Linked DNA regions of Homo sapiens: all the other regions are linked to region 2. Evidence: promoter capture Hi-C in 16 types of primary human blood cells and fetal thymus (Javierre and others, 2016). All regions are on one chromosome and are shown on one strand. Each heading gives the region's core, a stretch centred on a gene start or on the middle of the fragment in contact. The rest is flanking DNA. Distances are from core to core; before and after follow the strand shown. Region 1 holds the start of LCE3E (late cornified envelope 3E). Region 2 holds the start of LELP1 (late cornified envelope like proline rich 1). Region 3 holds the start of LCE2C (late cornified envelope 2C).

Region 1 (3,607 bases), core at 83-2,582, 640 kb after region 2:
GACGAAATTAATGGCAGAGACAAAGAGGACATTTTATAATGACAAAAGGATCCATATCTATTAAAGAAATAATTATTATACATATATATGCACCTAACAATGGAGTCCCATATTACATGTAACAAAGACTAACAAAATTGAAGGGAGAAACAGACAACTCATAAACAATTTAACAATAATACTTGAAGCTTTCATACTCCACTTTCATTAATGGAAGAACAACTAGGAAGAAAATCAACAAACTGAAGACTTTAACAACACTATAAACCAATTAAATCTAACAGACATCTTGTTGAACACTCCAACCACAATAGCAGAATACACATTTTTCTCAATTGCACATGGAACATTCTGCAGGGTAGACCATTTGTTGGGTCATAAAAGAAGTATCATTAAATTTTAAAACACTGAAATCATACAAAGTATCATCCGTAACCACAGGAGAATGAAACTAGAAATCAATAACAGAAGGAAAACTGGAAAATTCAGAAATGTCTTAAGCAACCAATGAGTTCAGAAAGAAATCACAAGGAGAATTAGAAAATACTTTGAGATGAATGAAAATAAAAATACAACATACCAAAAATTATGGGATACAGCAAAGGAAATGCTTACAGGGAAATACATGGCTGCAAATGCCTACATTAAGGAAGAAGAAAAATCTCAAATCAATTACCTAACCTTCTGCCTTAAAACACTGAAAAAAAGAAGAAACTAAACATAAAGCAGGAGGAAGGAAATAATAAAGATTAAGTTTGTAGCTGCATTATTCACAATAACCAAAAATTGGAGCTAACTCAAATGTCCATCACTTGATGAATGGTTAAATAAAACGTGCTAAATTCATAAAGTGAAATATTACTCAACCATAAAGAAGAATGGAGTTCTGACACATGCTACAGCATGGATAAATCTTAAACAATATATTAAGTGAAAGAAGCTAATGCAAAATGCCATATATTATATGATTCTATTTATATGAAGTGTCCAGAATAGGCAAGTCCATACAGGCAAAAAATTGATTACTAGTTGCCAGAGGGGCAATGTGGAATAAGGAGTGACTACTAATGAGTGGTGATAAAAACAATTGCTTCAAGGAAGGTAGGATTGCAACCCCCAGCAGGCCTGAATGAGGTGAAGGTAAACAGGCGTCAGACCTTCCTGGTTCCCTCTTGTCAGGCATCTTGGTGAGTACACAGGAAGGTGATGAATGGATAGTCTCAAGGGTGTGCCTGGCTGTCACCTCCCCTGGTTGTGAAAGCAGCAGCATGCCCAGCCTGTGCATCACACACCCTGCACAGGATAAAAGCACTCCTGCCCTGGGCTCCTCCACAGTCTCCTCAGGAACAGCCTTCTCCTGCCTCTCTGCACCTGGTAAGTATTCAGCAGGGGACAGGGCTTGATATGGGATGTTAGAACAGAAAGCTAAGGCCATAGCAGAAGAGATGGAAACAGAGAGGTTTGAAACAAAGACCCAGATACAGGACTGTGAGAGGGCAGCAATGGGGGAAGGGGGCAGGAGGGAGACCCTGCAGGAACTGACAGCAATTCCATGACCTGCAAAGGCCACAGAGCTCACAATTCCCTCCCATCCTCTTTCTACTCAGGCAGGCACATTTCCTGTAACATCCATTCTACAGAATTCTTTTTCCCAAAAGGGTGCATTCCCTAGGGGTTCTTTGGAGAAACAGAAACACACGTGCCCACTTAGACTCACAGCAATCTGTCCCGGGTGGAGAGCAATGTGAGAAGTATCTGGCATATCCCACCAGCTCCACATCAGCTTCCCTCACCCTCTTGCAGCTCTTGCCTCAGGAGGCAGCTGGTCTTAGAGACGTTGGACTGTAGATTTTGAACTAAGAAGTGGCTTCGTTTTCTCCAGGACATCTCAACTCCTGCCAAGATGTCCTGCCAGCAGAACCAGAAGCAGTGCCAACCCCCACCCAAGTGCCCCTCACCCAAGTGTCCCCCAAAGAACCCAGTACAGTGTCTGCCTCCAGCTTCCTCTGGCTGTGCCCCAAGCTCTGGGGGCTGTGGCCCTAGCTCCGAGGGCGGCTGCTTCCTGAACCACCACAGGCGCCACCACCGATGCCGGCGCCAGAGGTCCAACTCCTGTGACAGGGGCAGTGGTCAGCAAGGCGGGGGCTCTGGCTGCTGCCACGGTTCTGGGGGCTGCTGCTGATCCAGATCCTGATGCTGAGACAAGCGATCTTTGGAGGAAACAAGAATCCCAAGAGGCCAAGAACAGCCCCATCTGACGCATGCCTTCCCATATACCCTCTTCTGACTTTCACAGGCTGAGCTGGAGGTTTTCCTGTGGGGGATCTGAGCTCTCCCCAGAAGGCACTTCTTGTTTTATGTACAGGATGTCATATGTCCCCCTACCCCTGTACCTGCCAAGGATTGGCAGTGCTTGTGCCCAACCTCGTAAAAAAGATAAAGTTCCTTGTCCTCATTACCACCAGCGTCCCACTGGGCATTTCACAGTCTCTCTCCTCAGCTCTTTGGTCAGTACAACCCAGCTCAGGAGCCAAACCTTATCTCTGCACCAGGAAAACATAGTGGATCCGACCCCGCTCCACTGATGGAAGGGAAGGGGAGAGTTTTATGTTGTAGTGGGAGGGAGAGAACGACACAGGTTGTGCTGGTTTGAGGCCCTGAAACTCAACCTCAAACTCAAAGAGGGTATCAGTGCAAAAATTGACTTTTCCTGTAAAATCTGAGAGGACATTAATACAATTGGGGAATTTCCAGTGTATGACAGAAGACCACTAGTTTGTTTTGATGAGCTGTTTCTGGAGTGCTAACTAAGAAACCGGAAATCAAAAGGCAAAAAAGCAGAAAATAGGCAGAAGAGAAGCAGAATCAAAAGATGGAGGGAAGAGATGTAAGCCTTGGGAAGAAGTATAACTCAGTGACTGAAAATCCAGGGAGAGAGATGAAAGCTGAGAGAGGTGCTTAAATTAATGAGATAATGGAGCAGAGATGTGGCTGGGAGTTTACTCAATGAGATTATTGGAATGTGCAAAATGAGAATTTTAGGAAAAAGAAAAAGGCAGAAAATGAGAAGTGTTCCTGGAATTATAAATAGATATACCAAAGAAGCAACAAATTATTAATTTTGTAACTACACGACCTTGACATCAACACATGGAAGTTACAACTTCAATGGAGTCACATGTTTTGGCCTAAATTGTGAGACTGAGATGCTCCTGGGGTTGAAGGAATGTTTTTTTATGTGAACTAAGAGTAACATCTCACTTTGACTACCAGAAAACCAGAGAAGTGTCACGTAGAGCTACAGTCAAATTACAAATACTAAGAGAAGTTGATGTGAGGGCTAAGTAGAGCAGGTGGAGGGGGGGCATTAAAAATAAAGATGGATAACCTTATAAGTCCATTGAACTAAAAAAGGATTTTGTCAAATCCTATAAATTAATTCTTAAAATTTAGGGATCAAAAAGACCCTGAGGCCCAGCATGGTGACTCACACCTGTAATCCCAGCATTTTGGGAGGCCAAGGCAGGTGGGTCACTTGAGGTCAGGAGTTCAAAACCAGCCTGGACAACATGGTGAAACCCCATCTCTGCTAAAAATACAAAAAATT
Region 2 (3,530 bases), core at 841-3,340:
GAGCCCTTCTGCATAAGCATTATGCAACAGGACTAACAGAAAAGTAGTACAATGCCTTTTCCTGAGCCTTCCTGGACCTTTCACCAATATTCTACTCCTCTTTCTCCCTCATACCATCTCTTTCCTGCTTCCTGGCGTTAGACGCTTTCACAGCTGCAACCATATTTATGGATCTCTCAGGCTTTGCTCTAACACAGCCTGGCATTACCTGGGTACACCCTTCAGAAGTGGGCACCTGCCTCTAAGCAGCAGGTGGGGTCAGAGGGAAAGTCAGTTCTCAAAGGTTGTTGAGAGTGCAGGGTTCTAGCCTCACTTCTCAGGGATTGCTTGTTGGTGGTTTAGTGCTGTAAAACAACAAACAAAACAAATCAAAACCCACCAGAAACACCAGGAGAAGTCTTGCACAGCAGAGGAACACGTTTACTTGTCAGTTCATGGTTTCAGTCTCCAGCCCCACAGCGTTGTACATGGTGGAGGTGGCAGTGGTGGTGGGGTTGGGTAGTGCCCACAGTGCCTCACTCTGGGGGAGGGCAGGGAGGTGGGCAAGCATGTGGGCAGGATGAAGGGCATTTAGGAGGACAGGGCTTGGTGCAGGGCTGGGGAGGGCAGGATGAAGGAGACTGCGAGGGGCAGGGCAGGCACTTGGGTGGTGCTGGACACTTTTCCCATGGGCACTTTTCGAAACAGCGTTGCAGCAGCTTCTTTAAACAGCTGGGCTGGCATTTGGACTCACACTTTTGTTCACACTTGGGATCGCAGTTCTTGGGCTCAGTCTTGGGGTCATTTGATTTACTTTTATCATCACTCGACATTGTTTCTTGATTATCTGAGCCCTGCAAAGAAATATGAGATGCATTGTAGGTGGGAGAGGATACCTACAGGCTTCTTACAGCTTATCCTTGTACTTAAGAAAGTCTTCCCTGAGATGCATTCAGGCTCTAGATCATCTTCTCATTTAGGGCCGCCCTCATCCTTGTATGAGTTTGAGATAGCATTTCTTAATCTCTCCACCCTTAACTCTGCTTCCTTTTCACTTATTCTTGCTTCCATGCTATAGACTCTAGTAGGAGTTCTTAACCTATGGTTTTGGACCCCCCACCTCCCCCACCCCACTGAAACTGTATTTCAGTAGAGTTGGTGTCTCTGTAACTCCATATGTTGTATTTAATTCATTTAGAAACATGATTCCAAGGAGTCCCTAAGTTTGACCAGATTGCTCAAGGCATTCATGGCACAATAGAAGTTTCGCTCCTCTAAGGCCACTTCCTGTTCCTCTGAAGATAGATGGGAGGTACACTAGCAGACTTGGGGGCCTAGGACACTGCTTTCAATCCTGTGTCCCACCTAAGTTCCCTGAACCTTGAGAATTGCTTTCTTTACTAGAGGCCATGGGAGGGAAAGTAATTTAATCCCTGCCATGAGTGGGTTCCCATGGGCTACTCTAGAACTGCCCACTCCTTTGTCTCCATCCAGGTTCTGATAAATAATAGGGTAAGGGAAGAAATCAGGAGATGAACCACGAAATTCCAATTTCTCTGAAAATCTGAATGATAGAGCCACAAAATGTGATTTTCAGAAGGGAATTCCTTTTCTCTCCTGTTGAGTTTTGCCCTGAGCTAGGCATTTCTGCACGGACAGTTTAACTCCTAGATATGGACAGGGATTTTCAGTCCCTCACAATACTTCAAGTTGGATCTAATTGGTTATATTTCTTTGATTTCTTTTAACAATATAAAAATAACATTTTAAATTTTGTTTTAAAATCAGTATAGCTCTCTGGGGAGGCATATTATTAAGTTGAACTCTAAAATTGTTGAGACTCTATTCCAAGGTGAAGCACACACCAGTTCTTACCACTGAAAATAACAGGAAACTTTCATTCAAACATGACTTTCCCAACCCTGCTCAGTGCGTGGGGTACTTCAGGTCACTCCCAGGGTAGAAGAGGCCAAAGAGTGGCCACTTCCACCTGTCCAAATGCAACTTACCCCTCTGTGTTGGTGGTGAACTTGACAAGCAGTTGAGTGAGGTGGATGTTATGGCTGTGCCTGGGAAGGTGGCTTTTCCCTTTGGTTCCTCTGCCCAGATCTGAGGAAGCTGGGGGTGGGGGCAGGGGAAATGACCTCCACTTATGAGGTCATTGCAGCATCATCGAGGGGCAATTGTTGTGTGACTCCATAGCTCCCAGCACAACAAGCCCTGAACACCAGAATAGAGCCATGATGAATCACCCCCCTTGGCTGTCCCACCCCTCCCTAGACCCCTCAACATTCAGGCTGGTAAAATGAGGCTGCAGTGAAGAGTCCTGGGCTCTGAGGATGGGAGGCTCATTGTTGCTGGGAGCAGAAAAGCTGGCCCACTGTTGACACATGGTCTCCAGCTCCTCTTCCACCCTCAAAGTTTAATTCCTCTGAACCTGCTCCTTCCCCACCCTTCTAGGAGAGCAACCCTGAATTGATCACTGCCATTTTGACATTCTTCTTTTCTTTATTTTTCTAATGTGAGATTCTGAAACCTCTTCTTACCACCCCACACAATTGGGTTAGCCCCAGATCCTGCCTTAGGGCACAAAGATTTGCCTCTCAGAATTCCTTCCTTGCCTTTTTTAAAGGCCTGACCAGGGTCTTTGTGGTTGGAATGGGGGTGTGTTAGGAGTGGCGATGGGAGGCTGGAGTGCGAAAGGTGGGTAGGCTTAGACACAGGGTGCCTGAACTCAGGTTTAGGAGGTTCATCGTGGCAGTCATCACGAATGAATCTCTAGTGACTTTTGATTAAAATTGTGACATGATTATGCCTAAGGTATTTAAATATTAGGATGGATTGGGAGATGGGGTGGTGAAGTAAAAGTCGAATGAGACTGTTTTAAAGAAATTATGAAAATCTCCACATCTGAAGGAAGGCAGTCATGGGTCTGGGTGCCCATGAGAAAGACCTCATTAGACAGGTAGATTCATGGGACTTATTTACTGACTGTGCAGAAAATTAAGAATTGAAGATGACTCCAGAGCAAAAGGGCTTCTTCCTAGTGTACTAGAAGGCAATACGATGACACCAGGTTTTTGAGAAAAGAAAAGCTTTTTACTGCAACTAGACCATCAAAGAGACAAGAGTTTAGCTTGAATCTGTCTCCCTGTGCTGGCTTTAAGGCAGTCATTTTATTGGGAAAGGTTAGGGATTAGATTCTGGTATTAGTAGGTGACTGGTGGAAGGAAAAGGGAGGGCTGGAAAAAGTCCTCGGGCATGGGAAGTTATCTCTTCATGCTACCTCATGGGTCACATGTGCAGTTTCGGGGAGGGTCAGTATGAAACATGCAGTGGAAATTTGGCTGTGACATCAGCACGCTTTTTCTGTGCAGACTCCAGTCTGCCAGATTGGCTCCAATGACTTCAGCCAATTTTGTTATCTTACAAATGGAGAGAGTTTCAGCATTTCAGCAAGTTGTTCTTTTTTTAAAATCTACTATCATGTAAACTCAAGAATTTGTATTAGTCACTCGTTTGTTTAACTCTTTGGGACAATGTTTCACCAG
Region 3 (3,709 bases), core at 549-3,048, 530 kb after region 2:
CTGGGACTCAGATCTAACACTGTGAGGAACTGAAGCCAGGTGTCCAAGGCAGCAAGTCAAAAGGCTGATCTTAACCAGACTCATGAAAAGAAGCTGAGTGACCATGGGCTGTACTTTACAGGAGGAAGGGTCTCAACATCTGTTTCAAGCATTTTATCCAACTATTGATTCTAAGGGCAGGAAAGTTTTGCTTCATAGGGATGTGTTCTTCTCCCTAGAGAAGAACAAGTCTGCAGAGCTTCCCAACCTTCCCAACGTCTGGATTACACAGAAAATTAGAACATGTGTCTGGCTTAGTGGAGAGAAAGGCAAAGCTACCATAGCCAGAGGTGACCCTCTTGGAGCTCCATTCACTCAGCATCTGGGGGAATCAGTTCCTCAGAGCAGCTTTTCATGTATCACCTACTCATGTCCTGTCCTAGCCTCATGAAGAAAATTACTCTGAGGCCCTGACCTTTGGAGGACATTTGAAATCTCAGAAGAGAAGAGAATGACCAAGACATTTAGTGAGTCAGAGATCAGAGCTTTATTATAACATGAGGTAAAGGAGGAAAAGAAGACTTGCAATTGGGGTGTTACATCAAGCACGAAGTTCTTCCAGGAAAGCCCCATGAGTCTTTGTGGTCTCTGCCAACCAATGAATGGAATGAGAGGAAGTGGAAAGAGTATCCATCAGGCCGTAGCAGGTTCTTGGCCATTCAGTCCCAAGAGCTCTTCTGTAGCCCAGGTCAGCAGCAGCCCCCAGAGCTGTGGCAGCAGCCAGAGCCCCCAGAAGGTTCACTCTCACAGCAGTCGGGGCTCTGGTGCCGGCGCCGGTGGAAGAGACGGGGCCTGTGGTGGCTCAGGGAGCAGCCACCAGCCCCAGAGCTGCAGCAGCCCCCAGAGCTGGGACCACAGCAGCTCCCAGAGCTGGGACCACAGCAAGAAGAGACTGCAGGGAAACATGGAGCTGGGCACTGTGGTGGGCATTTGGGGGGACACTTAGGTGGACATTTTGGGGTACACTTGGGAGGACACTTGGGAGGGGGCTGGCACTGCTGCTGGTTTTGCTGGCAAGACATGCTGGCAGGAGTTTAGTCAACCTGAAAGATAATAATGAAACTCTTTAAATATTTCAAACCAAGGATCATATTATACCTCTTCTAAAATCAATGCATGTGTAGAAGAAGAATGATATTTAGATAATACAATCACATCAGTAACCTGAAAGAAACAACTTGAATCTTTCCTCTAGATAAAAGTACGTAGATAAAAAATCAACAGAATGAGCTTCTTACTCTTCCTTTCAGGGGAAACTGCGATTGCTCTATCCTCACAAGCCCGAATAGAGTATTCACAGCTCCCTGAAGTACCTATTCCTTTAATACAAGCCCTAAGGACAAGCTGGGTGTTGCAGGACATACCAAGGGGTCCTCTGGAAAATATTTTGCAATGAAACCTCCAGATAAAAGAGCCTGGCTTGAAGTATTTGCCAGTTTCCATGGTGTAAATATGCCCAACACAGCAGTTTTGAAGTTACCAACATGAAGTCACTGAACACAGAATTGGAAAAGATGTGCACAGTTAGCTTTCCCCACCTATATGAGCTCCGGTAGGCCTCAGAGCCTCAACAGATTCGAGGCAGGCTGAGTCCCATTCCTGCTCAGTATGGCAGAACACAAGCACACAACTCTTTCTCCAGCCTACCTCCATCCTCCCCATCCCTCTGCCTTGCTCATACCCCTCTGGTATCCCAGGTTGCCACTCACCCTGGTCACACGCAGGAGCACAGACACGTCCCTGGGGAGTCAGAGCAGATGAGATGCTGAAGCTGGATGTGTCTTTTATAGGGCCCAGGCTTGGCTCTGGAAAGAGCAGGAGGTGGCTCTTGCACAACCAGGCACACGCTGGGTCATTCCTGACATTCTCCTGCCTCTTAGTCCCTGCAATCCAAAGAGGCCTCAGGAGCTTCCAGGACTCCTCTCTGGGGCTGCAGTCTAGAGAGGCTGTAGCCAGTCAGAGCCTCCACCAGGTGGGAACCCTAAAGAGTTAACTTAGGGTACCCAAGGGACCCACACCTGGACAAGATTCTGTTCCCTGCATTTTTTTAATGCATGTCCTCTGAGGAAACATCAGTTCTGAGCCACAGCTTTCCCTGACCTTGTGGAAATGTTCCATTATGACTCCCTCCACCCTGAGCAGTTTCTCTTCCATGTCCTGCTGTGGATCCAGCCATCCCAGAGGGCTTCTACAGCCTTGGCTTTTTCTAGGCATCCCTCCCTTGCCTAGGCTCTCAGCCCTTCCTCCTGGCCTCTGTGTTTCTGCTTTTCCTCCGACTCACCATGGCAAGCAGATTCGGTGGATTAAATCTGAGTTGATTCTGTCACCTAAAGCAAGGAGAATGATTGAGAATAAACAATTCCCTCTAAAATCTAAACATTTCCTTCAGTCAGAGGACTTGTATTGAATGTGCTACTGGAATCAGAAAACTTGCATATGATAACTGGGTAATCTCTGAAAGTTGCTGTAACAATTATCAATAATTGCTAGAGTATTACTATGATACTCACTGTGAGTATCAGTTCTCACATATAATGCCCATTATAAACCTATCAGTGAGATATACCTATCTCACTGAGCTGTTTGTAATATAAAGTGAGAAGCAAGAAAGAGCTAAGTATGACATTTTGTGCCTGATAGACCCTTAATAAATATATGTTTAATAGAAAAACTAATGCCATGTATTGGATACTTGCCCCGGTCTTATGTGTCATTAATTGCCCATATAGAGCCCTTACCCTCAGAGAGCTTAACTCCACCAGACACTTAGATTATTTGAAACCTGTCTTGGGAAGTAGACATCATTTCTTGGGGCTCCTATGCAGAGGGAACTCCTTTCCTACCAGGAAGTAGAGGGTCAGCCAGGAATCTAGTTATTCAGAGTTCTGATTCAGGGTTGCACTAGACAGAGTTACCCAGTCATTTATTCATTTAGTTTAAACAGATACATTGAGTGTGAACCTTGAAAACATTACACTACGTGAAAGAAGCCAGTCACAAAAGACTGCATATTGTATGATGTTATTTATATGAAATGTGTAGAGTAGGCAAATCTCTGGAAATAGAAAGGGGATGAGGCTTTAGCCAGTTACAGCCTCTCCCAGGCTGGACCCCTGAAGAGCTGACTCAGGGCATCCGAGGAACAAGAGCCTGGATGAGATTCTGTTCCCTGTATCTCCTTTTATGTTTATGCCTGTCCTCTGAGAAATATCAGTGGCTTCCAGGTGCTTTAGCGGGCTGGGAGATATTGAGAAGTTACTGCCAATGGATACAGGTTTTCTTTGTGAAGTAATGAAAATGTTCTAAAATTATGGTGGTGATTGTCCAACTCTGTGAATATACTGAAAACCATTGAATTTACACTTTAAACAAATGAACTACAAATATGTTAATTACATCTCAATAAAGGTGTTAAAAATTAGAATTGAAAAAAATAGATATTCACACCTCTGATTAAAACAGAAACAGACTGTGCCTTCACATTGCCTAATGCCTACTTAGTGGGGGAGGGGAGGATGCGGAGAAAGCATAGTTTCCCATTGTCAGCTTCTAACTGAGGGATTCTGTTCTCCTAGTTATGCAATCCTATTATCAGATCTGATTCCTGCTCTCAGGAAGCTTTTACCTGAAGGATAAAGTAAGTCAACAGTGTGGTCAGAGCAGTGAATTC

What was found. Contacts are between HindIII fragments. The CHiCAGO score rates a contact against its expected background, and 5 or more counts as called.
Region 1: the fragment with the promoter of LCE3E here is called in contact with the fragment with the promoter of LELP1 in region 2 in 4 of 17 cell types (M1 macrophages, M2 macrophages, megakaryocytes and 1 more); the score reaches 6.9 in M1 macrophages.
Region 3: a contact is called between the fragment with the promoter of LCE2C here and the fragment with the promoter of LELP1 in region 2, in 16 of 17 cell types (endothelial precursors, total CD4 T cells, M0 macrophages and 13 more). The highest score is 16.4, in endothelial precursors.

Annotation. Positions count from the first base shown.
Region 1 is chr1:152,564,505-152,568,111 of GRCh38, reverse strand. LCE3E (late cornified envelope 3E) reads left to right here and starts at 1,332. Exons shown (of 2, transcript NM_178435.4): 1 at 1,332-1,374; 2 at 1,883-2,458. The coding sequence starts at 1,904. The coding sequence ends at 2,182. The HindIII fragment of the contact is 4,975 bases long and covers 191-3,607 here.
Region 2 is chr1:153,201,990-153,205,519 of GRCh38, reverse strand. It overlaps LELP1 (late cornified envelope like proline rich 1), which reads right to left and starts at 2,090. Exons shown (of 2, transcript NM_001010857.3): 1 at 1,989-2,090; 2 at 400-833. The coding sequence starts at 812. The coding sequence ends at 516. It also overlaps a transcript of SPRR2G not described here. The HindIII fragment of the contact is 8,615 bases long and covers 1-3,076 here.
Region 3 is chr1:152,673,368-152,677,076 of GRCh38, reverse strand. LCE2C (late cornified envelope 2C) reads right to left here and starts at 1,798. Exons shown (of 2, transcript NM_178429.5): 1 at 1,749-1,798; 2 at 508-1,082. The coding sequence starts at 1,061. The coding sequence ends at 729. The HindIII fragment of the contact is 8,836 bases long and covers 1-3,659 here.